Linked DNA regions of Homo sapiens: regions 1 and 2 are each linked to region 3. The links are contacts of gene promoters, found by promoter capture Hi-C in human tissues and cell types (Jung and others, 2019). All regions are on one chromosome and are shown on one strand. Each heading gives the region's core, a stretch centred on a gene start or on the middle of the fragment in contact. The rest is flanking DNA. Distances are from core to core; before and after follow the strand shown.

What was found. The method cuts DNA at HindIII sites, captures the fragments that hold promoters and counts their contacts. A contact is called where the count stands out against the background at its distance.
Region 1: a fragment that was not itself captured here is called in contact with the fragment with the promoter of ZNF525 in region 3 in 1 of the 25 tissues and cell types used here (spleen).
Region 2: a fragment that was not itself captured here is called in contact with the fragment with the promoter of ZNF525 in region 3 in 1 of the 25 tissues and cell types used here (small bowel).

The regions. Positions count from the first base shown.
Region 1 is chr19:52,968,127-52,972,593 of GRCh38, reverse strand. It overlaps the pseudogene ZNF702P. Among named protein-coding and RNA genes, the nearest start is that of ZNF816-ZNF321P, 7.5 kb to the right of the region's middle. The HindIII fragment of the contact is 4,137 bases long and covers 811-4,467 here.
Region 2 is chr19:52,883,919-52,888,173 of GRCh38, reverse strand. It overlaps ZNF320 (zinc finger protein 320), which reads left to right. Exons shown (of 6, transcript NM_001351774.2): 5 at 1-47. Among named protein-coding and RNA genes, the nearest start is that of ZNF320, 12 kb to the left of the region's middle. The HindIII fragment of the contact is 3,146 bases long and covers 949-4,094 here.
Region 3 is chr19:53,362,777-53,366,954 of GRCh38, reverse strand. It overlaps ZNF525 (zinc finger protein 525), which reads right to left and starts at 1,250. Exons shown (of 4, transcript NM_001348156.2): 1 at 1,196-1,250. RefSeq lists silencers at 853-912, 1,313-1,362 and an enhancer at 953-1,202. The HindIII fragment of the contact is 12,378 bases long and covers 1-4,178 here.

The DNA of each region.
Region 1 (4,467 bases), core at 1,630-4,129, 400 kb after region 3:
ACTGCAAGCTCCACCTCCCGGGTCCACGCCATTCTCTTGCCTCAGCCTCCTGAGTAGCTGGGACTACAGGCATGTGCCACCACGCCCGGCTAACGTTTTGTATTTTTAGTAGAGACGGGGTTTCACCGTGTTAACCAGGTCTCGATCTCCTGACCTCGTGATCTGCCCGCATCGGCCTCCCAAAGTGCTGGGATTACAGGCATGAGCCACTGCGCCTGGCAATGCTGTGTATTTTCTTGACCTCATATATCAGAAGGTAGTGATCTTAACATGTAATTCAGTTCTTATATTGTGTGCTGGTGGTAAGTAGAAGTTTTGGCTTTTTTCTTAAGTGGAAATTGTTTACAATTCTGCAGGCTGTATAAATGTACATATTATTTTCTTGTTTTATCGTTGGTTACAATATTTTGTTAATTGAATTTTATGACTTTACATGTGAGTATTCAGTATGTGGCATGCAATATAACTGACACACTGCACTCATTAATGTCACAAAGTGCCACTGGGTGCAGTGGCTTATGCCCGTAATCCCAAATGGCCAACATGGTGAAATCCCATCTCTACTAAAAATACAAAAATTAGCCGGGCATGCTGGTGCTTGCCTGTAATCCAAGGTATTCAGGAGGCTGAGGCAAGACACTCACTGGAACCCAGGAGGTAAAGGTTGCAGTGAGCCAAGATCGTGCCATTGCACTCCAGCCTGGGTGACAGAGCAAGACTCCATCTCAAAAATATAAAAATAATAAACATTTTTTTAAAAAGTCACAAAGTGCCTGTTCCACATGGATATAGGAAATTTTTCACAGTTATTCAGAAAAATATGGTATTCACATTTTCTTTTTTGGGGGATGGAGTATCACTCTGTCGCCCAGGGTGGAGTGCAGTGGCACGATTTCAGCTTACCACAATCTTTGCCTCTCGGATTCAAGCAATTCTTCTGCCTCAGCCTCTCAGGTATCTGGGATTACAGGTGCCCACCACCATGCCTGGCTACCGGCTACTTTTTGTATTGAGGTAATCCACCTGCCTCTGCCTCCCAAACAAGTACTGGAGTTACAGGTGTGAGCCACCATGCCCTGCTTTTTTTTTTTTTTTTGAGATGGAGTCTCACTTTGTCATCCAGGCTGGAGTGCAGTGGTGCGATATTGACTCACTGCAGCCTTTGCCTCTTGGTGATTCTTGTGTCTCAGCCTCTCATGTAGTGGGATTACAGGCATGGGCCGCCATGCCTGGCTAATTTTTGTATTCTTTTCTTATCTTCTCAGTGCTGTGATTGTTTGACAATACAGAATTTCCATTGATTTTGATTATCCTTACAAGAGCTTGTTGTGGATTATTTACCAATATAGTACGTTATCCGGTCCTTTAGCATTTATTTGTATACTCTATGCTATAAATATGAAGAATATATATTTTTTCCTTCTTTGATGTGACAGTAATATGCTTTTTGCAAACTGTGATACATTTTAGGGTCACAGTGGAAAAACACTCCTTACTTTAGGCTTACACATGTTTGTGCCCTGTCAGTGTTTCGTCATGATATTGGGAATAGGCTTCTGTAGAAATGATTTAAAGGACTTGTAATCGCCCTTTATTTATTAAAGAACCTTACTCCTTTTGTGTTCTTAAACTTTGAAAATCATGTTTGGGAATTTCAAAATAAATATTGTTTTTTGTGTCCTAGTTACATATTTCAGTATTATTTACCATCTGCACTTAATTGGAAACCTATTGTTGTTTATATTTTGTAGCTATCTCTTCCAAATGCATGACAAGGAAGTTCTCATCAAGAAGGCAAGGCAATACAGAAGTGTTCCACACAGGGACATTGCAAAGACAAGCAAGTCATCACACTGGAGATTTTTCCTTCCAGGAAATTGAGAAAGATTTTCAGGACTTTGAGTTTCAGTGGCAAGAAGATGAAAGAAATGGCCATGAAGCACTCATGACAGAGATAAAAAAGTTGACAGGTAATACAGACTGATATGATCAAAGGCATGCTGGAAACAAACCTATTAAAGATCAGCTTGGATCAAGCTTTCATTCACATCTGCCTGAACTGCATATATTGCAGAGCAAAGGGAAAATTGATAGTCAAGATGAGAAGTCTGTCAATGATGCTTCCTCAGTTTCAGCATCCCAAAGAATTTCTTGTATTCCTAAAACCCATATTTCTAATAAGTATGGGAATAATTTCCTCCAGGAAGCACACATGAGAGAAAAATCTTTCCAATGTAATGAGAGTGGCAAAGCCTTTAATTGTAGCTCACTGTTAAAAAAATGTCAGATAATCCATTTAGGAGAGAAAAAATATAAATGTGATATATGTGGCAAGGTCTTTAATCAGAAGCGATACCTTGCATACCATCATAGATGTCACACTGGTGAGAAACCTTACAAGTGTAATCAGTGTGGCAAGACCTTCAGTTACAAGTCATCCCTTGTAATTCACAAGGCAATTCATACTGGAGAGAAACCTCACAAGTGTAATGAATGTGGCAAGGTTTTTAATCAAAAAGCATATCTTGCAAGTCATCATAGACTTCATACTGGAGAGAAACCTTACAAATGTGAAGAATGTGACAAAGTTTTTAGTCGCTAATCACACCTTGAAAGACATAGGAGAATTCATACTGGAGAGAAACCGTACAAATGTAAGGTTTGTGACAAGGCTTTCAGACGTGATTCACACCTGGCACAACATATTGTAATTCACACTGGAGAGAAACCTTACAAGTGTAATGAGTGTGGCAAGACCTTTGTTCAAAATTCATCTCTTGTAATGCATAAGGTCATTCATACTGGAGAGAAATGTTACAAGTGTAATGAATGTGGCAAGGTTTTTAATCACAAATCAAACCTTGCATGTCATCATAGACTTCATACTGGAGAGAAACCTTACAAGTGTAATGAATGTGGCAAGGTTTTTAATTGAAAATCAAACCTTGAACATCATCATAGAGTTCATATCGGAGAAAAACCTTACAAATGTGAAGAATGTGACAAAGTTTTCAATTTCAATTCACGCCTTGAAATACATAGGAGAGTTCATACTGGAGAGAAACCATAGAAATGTAAGGTTTGTGACAAGGCATTCGGGTGTGATTCACACCTGGCACAACATACTAGAATTCACACTGGAGAGAAACCGTGCAAGTGTGATGAGTGTGACAGAGCCTTCAGTGGTCAGTCAACACTTATTCACCATCAAGCAATCCATGTCATAGGGAAACTTTACTAATGTAATGATTGTCACAAAGTCCTCAGTAATGCTACAACCATTGCAAATTATTGGAGAATGCATAATGAAGTGAGAACTTACAAGTGTTATAAATGTGGCAAATTTTTCAGACTTCGTTCATACCTTGCAGTTTATCAGCGAACTCATACTGGAGAGAAACCTTACAAATGTGATGATTGTGGCAAGGTCTTCAGTCAAGCTTCATCTTATGCAAAACACAGGTGAATTCATACAAGAAAGAAACCTCACAAGGGTGATGATTGTGTCAAAGCCTTTATTTCAGGTTCATGCCTCATTACACATCAGAGAATCCATACTAGACAGAGATCTTACAAAAGTCATATGTGTGGCAAGATCTTTAGTCTGAGGTCACTCCTTGCAGGACATCAGGAAATTCATTTTTGAGGTAATAATTTCAAATGCAATGAGTATAGCAAACCATCAAGCACAATTGATGTTAGATTCAAATCAGCATTGAGTTCAGTTTGAGTTGACTTAACATTGAGTTCAAGTATTTGTTGAGATTAAAGTGTTTATGTTAAGAGGATTAGGCCAGGTGCGGTGGCTCACACCTGTAATCCCAGCACTTTGGGAGGCCAAGACAGGTAGATCACTTGAGATCAGGAGTTTGAGAGCAGCCTGGCCAACAGAGGTGAGCACCTTTCCCAGTCTGTTTTTTGTTTCTTCAACAAAAACTGATAGAGATTTTTATGGGTATTGTGTTGAATCAAAATCACATTGGGTTATGTAATCATTTAACAGTATTAATTTTTCCAAAACATCAATATGGGTTATATCTTTATATATGTTTTTAATCATTTTGATCAATGTTTGTAGATTTCAATGTATGAATTTCTCACTTCTTTCCATTTATTCCTATTTCTTACTTTAAGTTCTCTAGCAAATGGAAGTGTTTTTAAATTTTCATTTAAAATTGTTTATTGTTAATGTATGAAAATTCAACGAATTTTTGGTGCTGATATTGTATTGTGCAAATCTACTGATGTGTTTATTAGTCACAGTAGTATTTTGGTTGACTCTTTGTGATTTTCTACACAGAAGATCATGTCATCTACAAAAAATATAATTTTACTTTTTCTGATTTTGAGGCATTTCATTTCTTTTGCTAGTTCATTGCTCTGGCTAGGACTTCCAGTATTTATTGAATAGAAAAAGTGAGAACGTTCTTGCATCATGTGAGATCCTACGGGAAAAGGATTCTATTT
Region 2 (4,255 bases), core at 1,272-3,771, 480 kb after region 3:
ATACAGAGACGTGATGCTGGAGAATTATAGGAACCTGGTCTCCCTGGGTGAGGATAACTTCCCTCCAGAAGTGGGGATGTGCCCTTGTGGATCTTTGTATTTTCTCTTGTTTCTCTTGGGAGTTGCATCCTTGCTTGACTAAAATGGAAGCTGTATTGATTTTGAAATGAAAAGCTTCATGATGTAGCATCTGGACTTTCACTGTCCCCTTTGTTTAGATGTTCTGCGTTCTTCATGATACCTCAATGTGGGTTCCAGAACTAAAGTAGGCATAAAACCTTATGGCAAGCTGGGCATGGTGGTTCATGCCTGTCATCCCAGAACCTTGGGAGACTGAGGTGTGTGGATCACTTCAGGTCAGGAGTTTGAGACCAGCCTGGCCAACATGGTGAAACCCTGTCTCTACTAAAAATACAAAAATTAGCCGGACGTCATGGTGCACACCTGCAATCCCAGCTCCTAGAAAGGCTGAGGAGAGAGAATTGCTTGAACCCAGGAGGCCAAGGTTGCAGTGAGCCGAGAACACACCGCTGCACTCCAGCCCAGACGACAGAGCAAGACTGTCTCAAAAAACAAAAACAAAACCTTATGGTAGACTTTAAACATATCCAGTTCCCTGTTTGCTTCTCCTGTGCTTTCAACTCATTAGTTCTTGGAAGATAGCCCGATGTCCACATATTACATATTACAGTGCTCCAACAGCATTCAGAATGAGGCAGTCAGTGGAGGAATTTGTGAAATATTTTCCTAGATCCACCTGTAATGTCTTCTTTCCTACAGAAATATAGGGCTGGGACTCTAGAAAAGCTCCAGCACATCATGGTCCTTTCTTTTTATAAGCACGAGTCTCTTTCTGACCTGTTATCTCCATGTTGGAGCAAGGGAAAGAGCCCTGGACTGTGGAGAGTTAAGTGAAAATAACAAAAAACTCCAGATGGGTGGGAATGTATTACAGGTGTAAACGCAGGTAAGAGCTCAGATGGGCAGAGTGGAAGCTCCACCTTCAAATAGTGTGTGGGGAAACTCTCTGCAAGTGGGAGAATTCTGTGGCAAAAGAAAAGTTTCAATCCTGAGATCTCTGAAGGGACATCTTTCTTTGCCCTCACTTATCCCTCTGCTCTTTCCTTATTTACTTCTTTTCTTTTCTTTTGTTTTGTTTTTTCTTTTCCTTCCTTCCTTCCTTCCTTCCTTCCTTCTTTCTTTCTTTTCTTTCTTTCTTTCTTCTTTTCTTTCTTTTTCTTTTGATAGTTTCACTCTTTCATCCAGGCTACAGTGCAGTGGAACGATCTTGGCTAACTGCAGCCTCTGCCTTTCAGGCTCAAAGGATTCTTGTGCCCCACCTTTCTTGGAGGCTGGGACTGCAGGCGCTCACCACCATGCCCAGCTCACTTTGTGTTTTTAGTAGAGATGGGGTTTCACCATGTTGTTCAGGCTGGTCTCAAACTCCTTATCTCAAGTGATTCACCTGCTTCGGCTTCCCAAAATGCTGGGATTACAGGCGCGAGCTGCCATGCCCAACCATGGTTATTCTTTTAAATAGTTTTGTCTTTTAGTTCTTAGTAAACATAAGTGGTTTAAACATGATTCCAGTGTGAATATAACAACCACATTAGTGTCCATTCCGTTCAGTACGCAGAAGTGAAGTGCGTTGTATTGATATATGGGGAGAGGTTATTGTTGCAGGTATGTTAAACATCTTAAACTTATAGCACAATAATGAAGCTTAAAATTTCCATAACCTGGCCAGGTGCAGTGGCTGACACCTGTTATTCCAGCACTGGGATGCCGAGGTGGGCAGATCGCCTGAGGTCAGGAGTTCAGAACCAGCCTGGGTAGCATGATGAAACTTCATCTGTACTAAATTTACAAAAATTAGCCAGGCACAGTGGTGGGCAGCTGTAATCCCAGCTACTCAGGAGGCTCAGGCAGGAGAGTCACTTGAACCTGGGAGGTGGAGGTTGCAGTGAGCCAAGATCGCACCATTGCACTCCAGCCTGGGAGACAGAGTGAGACTCCATGTCAAAAAAATAAAAATAAAAATAAAAAAATTCCATAACCTACAAAAACTACTTCTTCTCCAGTAGAACTTTTTTATTTTTGTCAGAGTTATTTTTGTGTATGTTGCATTTCTGTTAACATATATGTACAGTGTTTTTTCATACATTTTCATTTTTAATAATATGAAAAAAAGTTTAGTTATGAAGAAAAGGTATACGTATGCGAGTTTCTGTATCTGTCCTTTTATTAATTAATTAATTTATGTATTTATGAGACAGAGTTTTGCTCTTGTCACCCAGGCTGAAGTGCAGTGCTGCAATCTTGACACCACAACCTCCACCTCCCCGGTTCAACCAATTCTCCTGCCTCAGCCTGTCGAGTAGCTGGGATTACAGGCATGCGCCACCACACCCAGCTAATTTTGTATTTTTATTGTTTTATTTATTTATTTATTTTTTTGAGACAGAGTTTCACTCCTGTTTCCCAGGCTGGAGTGCAATGGTGCAATCTCAGCTCACTGCAACCTCCACCTCCCAGGTTCAAGCAGTTCTCCTGCCTCAGCCTCCTGAGTAGCTGGGACTACAGGTGCTGGCCACTATGCCTGGCTAATTTTTGGTATTTTTAGTTCAGACGGGGTTTCACTGTGTTAGCCAGGATGGTCTCGATCTCCTGACCTTGTGATCCACCCACCTCAGCCTCCCAAAGTGCTGGGATTACAGGCATGAGCCACCACGCCTGGCCTAATTTTGTATTTTTGGTAGAGACAGGGTTTACTCCTTGTTGTCCAGGCTGGTCTCGAACCCTTGACCCCAGGTGATCCGCCTGGCTTGCCCTCCCAAAGTGCTGGGATTATAGGCATGAACCACCATGCCCAGCCTACCCGTTTTTTTTATTTACCTTTACTGGAGAACTTTATATATGTTTGTGGGTTGGAGTTATTCTTTAGCCTTCTGTCATTTATTTATTTTTTCTTTGAGACACAGTCTCAGTCTCTCACCCAGGCTAAAGTGCAGTGGTGTGATCTTGGGTCACTGCAACCTCCACTTCCCAAATTCCAGTGATTCTCCTGCCTCAGCCTCTCAAGTAGCTGGGACTACAGGCGAGTGCCAACATGCCAGGCTAATTTTTTTGTATTTTTTTTTAGCAGAGATGGGGTTTTACCTTGTTAGCTGGGATGGTCTTGATCTCCTGACCTCAGGAATCTCCCACCTCATCCTCCCAAAATGCTGGGATTACCATGCCCTACATGTCTCAAGGTTTTTAAAACATGTTAGTGCTATTAGATGGCTTCAAGTATTGCAAGATTTATAGTAGAGACCCTAAACATCCTTTGTTTAATAAGATTTGTCAGCCTGTGGTGATGTTGATGATGAGATGCTCCTGTTCCTTTCTCTGTCATTTCACTGTTAGAAATAGCTTAGACTGACTGGCCACGGTGGCTCATGCCTCTAATCCTAGCACTTTCAAAGACCAAGGTGGGTAGATTGCTTGAGGTCAGGAGTTTGAAAACAGTCTGGCCAACATGGTGAAACCTGGAATGTACTAAATGCCAAAAATGGGCCAGGCGCAGTGGCTCACACCTAAAATCCCAGCACTTTGGGAGGCTGAGACAGGTTGATCACTTGAGGTCAGGAGTTCAAGACAAGCCTGGCCAATATGGTAAAACCCCATCTCTACTAAAACCACAAAAACCAGCTGTGCATGGTGACTTGCGCCTATAATCCCAGCTACTTGGGAGGCTGAGGCAGGAGAATCACTTGAACCCATGAGGTGGAGGTTGCAGGGAGCTGAGATCACGCCACTGCACTCCAGCCCGGGCAACAGAGTGAGACTCTGGGCTGAGGAGGGAGAATCAGTTGAGGTAGGAGAATCCTGCCAGTACACTCTAGCCTGGGTGATAAGAGCGTGACTCGATCTGAAGAATAAACGAAAAAGGAAGTAGCTTAAACTGGGAAGCTTAAGACACAGAAATTTATTTCTCATGAATTTGGAAAGTGGGAAATCCAAGAGCAAGGTGCCAGCCAAATTGATTCCTGGTGAGAGGCTTCTTCACGGTTTAGCCCAGCCATCTTCCTGCCATGTCCCAATATGGTAGAAAGAGGAACAGGCAATGAGCTCTTTAATGTCTCTATAAATGCACTAGTCCTATTCATGAGGAGTCAACACCCATGACTAAATTCTCTCAAAGTCTGCATCTGCAGGAACATCCTATTAGAGAATACCACATCTACCAAAGCTTATATGAGAAGTAGTTATT
Region 3 (4,178 bases), core at 1-2,500:
CTTTTTAGATGTAAATCTGCTGAGCCGCTGTGTACCTTAAATAAACATCCTCCTGTCTCCCCCATATCAGTCTCTCTAGTCCTCAGTTTCCCGCAACACCATCTCTGCGCCTCCTCTGCTCTCCCCGTTAAATTCTCTCTTCTCTGTTATACCCCCTGTCCCCACTCTCTGGCACCCCAGATCCCCAGGTGTCCTCCCTGCTGTGGTTCTCCCTCTGTTCTCTTTGCCACCAGCACCACTCTGCTCTGTCTGCCCTGGCTCCAAATCCCTCCTCCTCTCCCTCACCCTGATGAGCCTCCCTCTTTGCTGTCCCTCTCCCTACCTTGCTGTCCTTCATCTCTCTGTACATCTAGCTTTTCTCTACATTTCTCTAGTTGCTTTTCTCCTCCTGCTTATCTTTTTTTTTTTTTTTTTCACTTTTGCTGTCTCTTGGCAAATCCCTCACCCATCCTCTACTTTGCCATCTGTTATGGGCCTTTCTCATTCTTCTTTTCTCTGTCTCAGGTTTTCTACTGCTGTCTGTCTCCCGATCCCTTTGGCCCACACAATCACAGGAGGGTTTGGAGTAAGACGCCTGCATCCCGGAGGAGCTTATTTTCCAGGGGCTGGAACTGGGCAGGCAAGAACACCCCGTGTCACAGGACAGAACCCGGGCACCTCCCCTAACGCAGGCTCAGGGCAAGCTGTGACTGCGGATGGGAGACCTGGGGAGCAGCAGGGCCCGGCATGAGGAGGGACGTGGGGGGCGACGGCGCCTTAAGACAAGGGTGGGGTTTGTAGGATCCCAGGACAGGCAGAGAACTCGGCCTCCCCGGGACCGGAGCTGCGACGCTGCGCTCTAGGGGCCGACGAGGGCGAGGCTGGGAGGCGCCCAGGGCGGGAATTCACCTCTCGGGTGAGGACTTTAAAAAGCGCGGGGCGGGAGGAGTCAGAAAAAGGTTTAGAGCAGGAAAACTACGCGATAGAAAGTGTATATATTGCCCTATAGCAGAAAGATCCGGAACGGGACCAGCCTCAGGGAGACTTTAAACCCAAAAGGAAGTGACCCCCGGGCTCTCACGGGGACGTCTCAATTTGCTCTGGGCGAAGGAAGACGGGTGAGAATTTCCAGGTCTGTAGGGACCCCACGTCCCAGGGACAGAAGCGCCGGGGACCTGGGAAGAGCAGACTTCATACAAGATGGAGCGAAACTCACGCGCCGCTGAGGGACCTTCACTCCACGCGATCTGCTTCCGGGTTTGCGCGCGTCTGAGCGGGGAAGGACAGAAGCCAGGCCTGGGCGGGGCCTGCGAGGAGGTGGGCGGGGCCTGGGCCAGGTAGGGGTAGAGGCGGAGAGACCTTGCCCTTTAGTACCGGCAGAGGGCGGGGCGGGGCTGGGCTGGGGCGGGATCTGTGCGTCTCTCAGCCTCCCTCCCACCGCCTCTGTTTTTGGGTTTTGGAGGCGAGATGGCCAGGAAGGCCGATCCATGATTCAAAAGCCCTGGAATTGTCTGAAACGCGGATGCAAAGTAGAATGTGAAATGCAAAGCCCTGCTTGGGCAGAACTTACAATGTCATGCTGACGGCCCAGAGAATAGAATAGAAATCCTCTCCCTTTCTATTCTCCATTCACTCCGGAGGGAGAGTCCACCCTGTGCTCAGCTGCAGAGACTTCCCTAAAGCCACCGCCTGGGATGCTGGACGGAGTGCTCAGGCCAGCGAGGAGTGAGGTCACCACCTGCCGGATAAACACAGCAAGGATGCGGACGCGGGCGCGGGAGCCTGAGGTCCCATCTACTCAGGAAGCAGGGCGGGAGGATCGCTGAACCTGGGGGTCCAGGCCAGCCTGGGCGACAAAGTAACACCCCCTCCCGCAGGGCTCCCTTCCTCGTTTCTCTCTTTCTCTCTTTATTTTTCGTTGTTTTTTTTTTACGTTTTAAAATAAGAGGTTGATTGTATGAGATAGGGATCCAACATTGTTCTTTTCCATGTGGATATCCAGTTAGTTGTCCATTCCACATTTGTGGAAGAGATCTGTTACTTTCTTTTATGTATTTACTTATTTCTTTTCTTTTGTTTTGAGACAGAGTATTTCTCTGTCATCCAGGCTGCAGTGCAGTGGTGGGATCTCGACTCACTGCAAGCCTCTGCTTCCTGGGTTCAAGTGATTCCCCTGCCTCAGCCTGAAGGGGGCCTGCCCCTCCACACCTGCGGGTGTTTCTCATCAGGTGGAGATGAGAAACTGAGAAAAGAAATAAGACACAGAGACAAAGTATAGAGAAACAGCAGTGGGCCCAGACAACCGGAGCTCAGTGTGCGAGTACCCGCACCGGCGCTGGTCTCTGAGTTCCCTCAGTATTTATTGATCACTATTTTTACTATCTTTGTGAGGGGAGTGTGGCAGGGCAACAGGGTGATGGTGGCGAGAAGGTCAGCAGGGAAACGTGAGCAAAGGAATCTGTGTCATGAATAAGTTCAAGGAAAGGTACTGTGCCTGGATGTGCACGTAGGCTAGATTTATGTTTCTCTTCACACAAACATCTCAGTGTAGCAAAGAGTCACAGAGCAGTATTGCTGCCAGCATGTCTCACCTCCAACCACAGGGCGGTTTTCTCCTACCTCAGAATAGAATGAATGGTCGGCTTTACACCGAGGCATTCCATTCCCAGAAATGAGCAGGAGACAGAAGCCTTCCTCTTATCTTGACTGCAAAGAGGCCTCCCTCTTTCACTACTCCTCCTCAGCACAGACCCTTCACGGGTGTCGGGTTGGGGGATATAAGGTCTTTCTTTTCCCATGAGGCCATATCTCAGGCTGTCTCAGTGGGGGGAAACTTGGACAATACCCAGGCTTTCTAGGGCAGAGGTCCCTGCGGCTTTCCGCAGTGCATTGTGTCCCTGGTTAACAGAGAATGGAGAATGGCGATAACTTTTACCGGGCATACTGCCTGCAAACATATTGTTAACAAGGCACACCCTGCACAGCCCTAAATCCATTAAACCTTGATTCAATACAGCACATGTTTCTGTGAGCACAGGGTTGGGGCTAAAGTTACAGATTAACAGCATCGCAAAGCAGAACAATTTTTCTTAATACAGATCAAAATGGAGTTTCTTATGTCTTCCTTTTCTACATAGACACAGTAACAGTCTGATCTCTCTTTCTTTTCCCCACATTTCCCCCTTTTCTTTTTGACAAAACCACCATCGTCGTCATCACCCATTCTCAATGGTCGCTGTCTCTTCGGAGCTGCTGGGTACACCTGCAGACTAACAACAGACAGAACAGGAACACAAGGATTAATATGAAATTTACAATAGTGGAACTTGCGATGGTTTTAACCCAAGTGACCGGGTTAAGATTTGCGAGGCCATCAGCAGCTTTCGCGATTGCCTCAGTTCCTGGCACCAAATTTAAATGGGTTTTTGATGCCTCAAAAATTTTTCTTTTAATTTTGAAATGTCTAAAGTAAGATCATCTTCTCTTCCTTGTAGATGGCATCTAACCATGTCCCAATGATGCTCAGACTCATTATAGGCTTAGGATGTAATACAAAAATGTGACATATTCCAGTCACAGTGTAACCAGAAATGATGTTTCAAGCTCGTGAGCCTATCTCCCATCCAAACAACATTGTGTCTAAGGTCATTAATTTGATTTGCCAATTTTTGATCAATACCAGATTATGAATTCCACAATCTTGTAGAATTCTTTTGCCAATAATTAAAAAAGTTTACTGTCTGAGCAGAAGAGTACAATGAAACTCCTGCCACAGAGGCCGTAGCTGTGACTGCAATTAGTCCCATAATCACTGCAATTAAAGAATATTTTGGATCTATTTAAAATGGCTTTGAATACTTCAGTCAAAATATGGACGGATGGCGAGGCCTCCCACGGTCAGTCCATGGACACAGGGACCCACACGCCTTCTCTTGCTCTCACTAGCAGAATATGGTGCTGCCAATTAAAAGTCGAATCAATGCAAGTAAACAATCTGCAGTTTTCACAGGTTATAGTTTGGGAGTCTGGTTTAATAACTATATTTCCTACAACTAGCATATAAGGGGGCTTTATACAACTTTGCAAAGGAACTGTTAGACTGGAATTTAGGTCGATAGTATAAAATGGCTTGCGATCTCTTCTTTATATAGCTTGATTTCCAGATCAAATTCTAATGCAATATGAGGCCACAGTAAGCA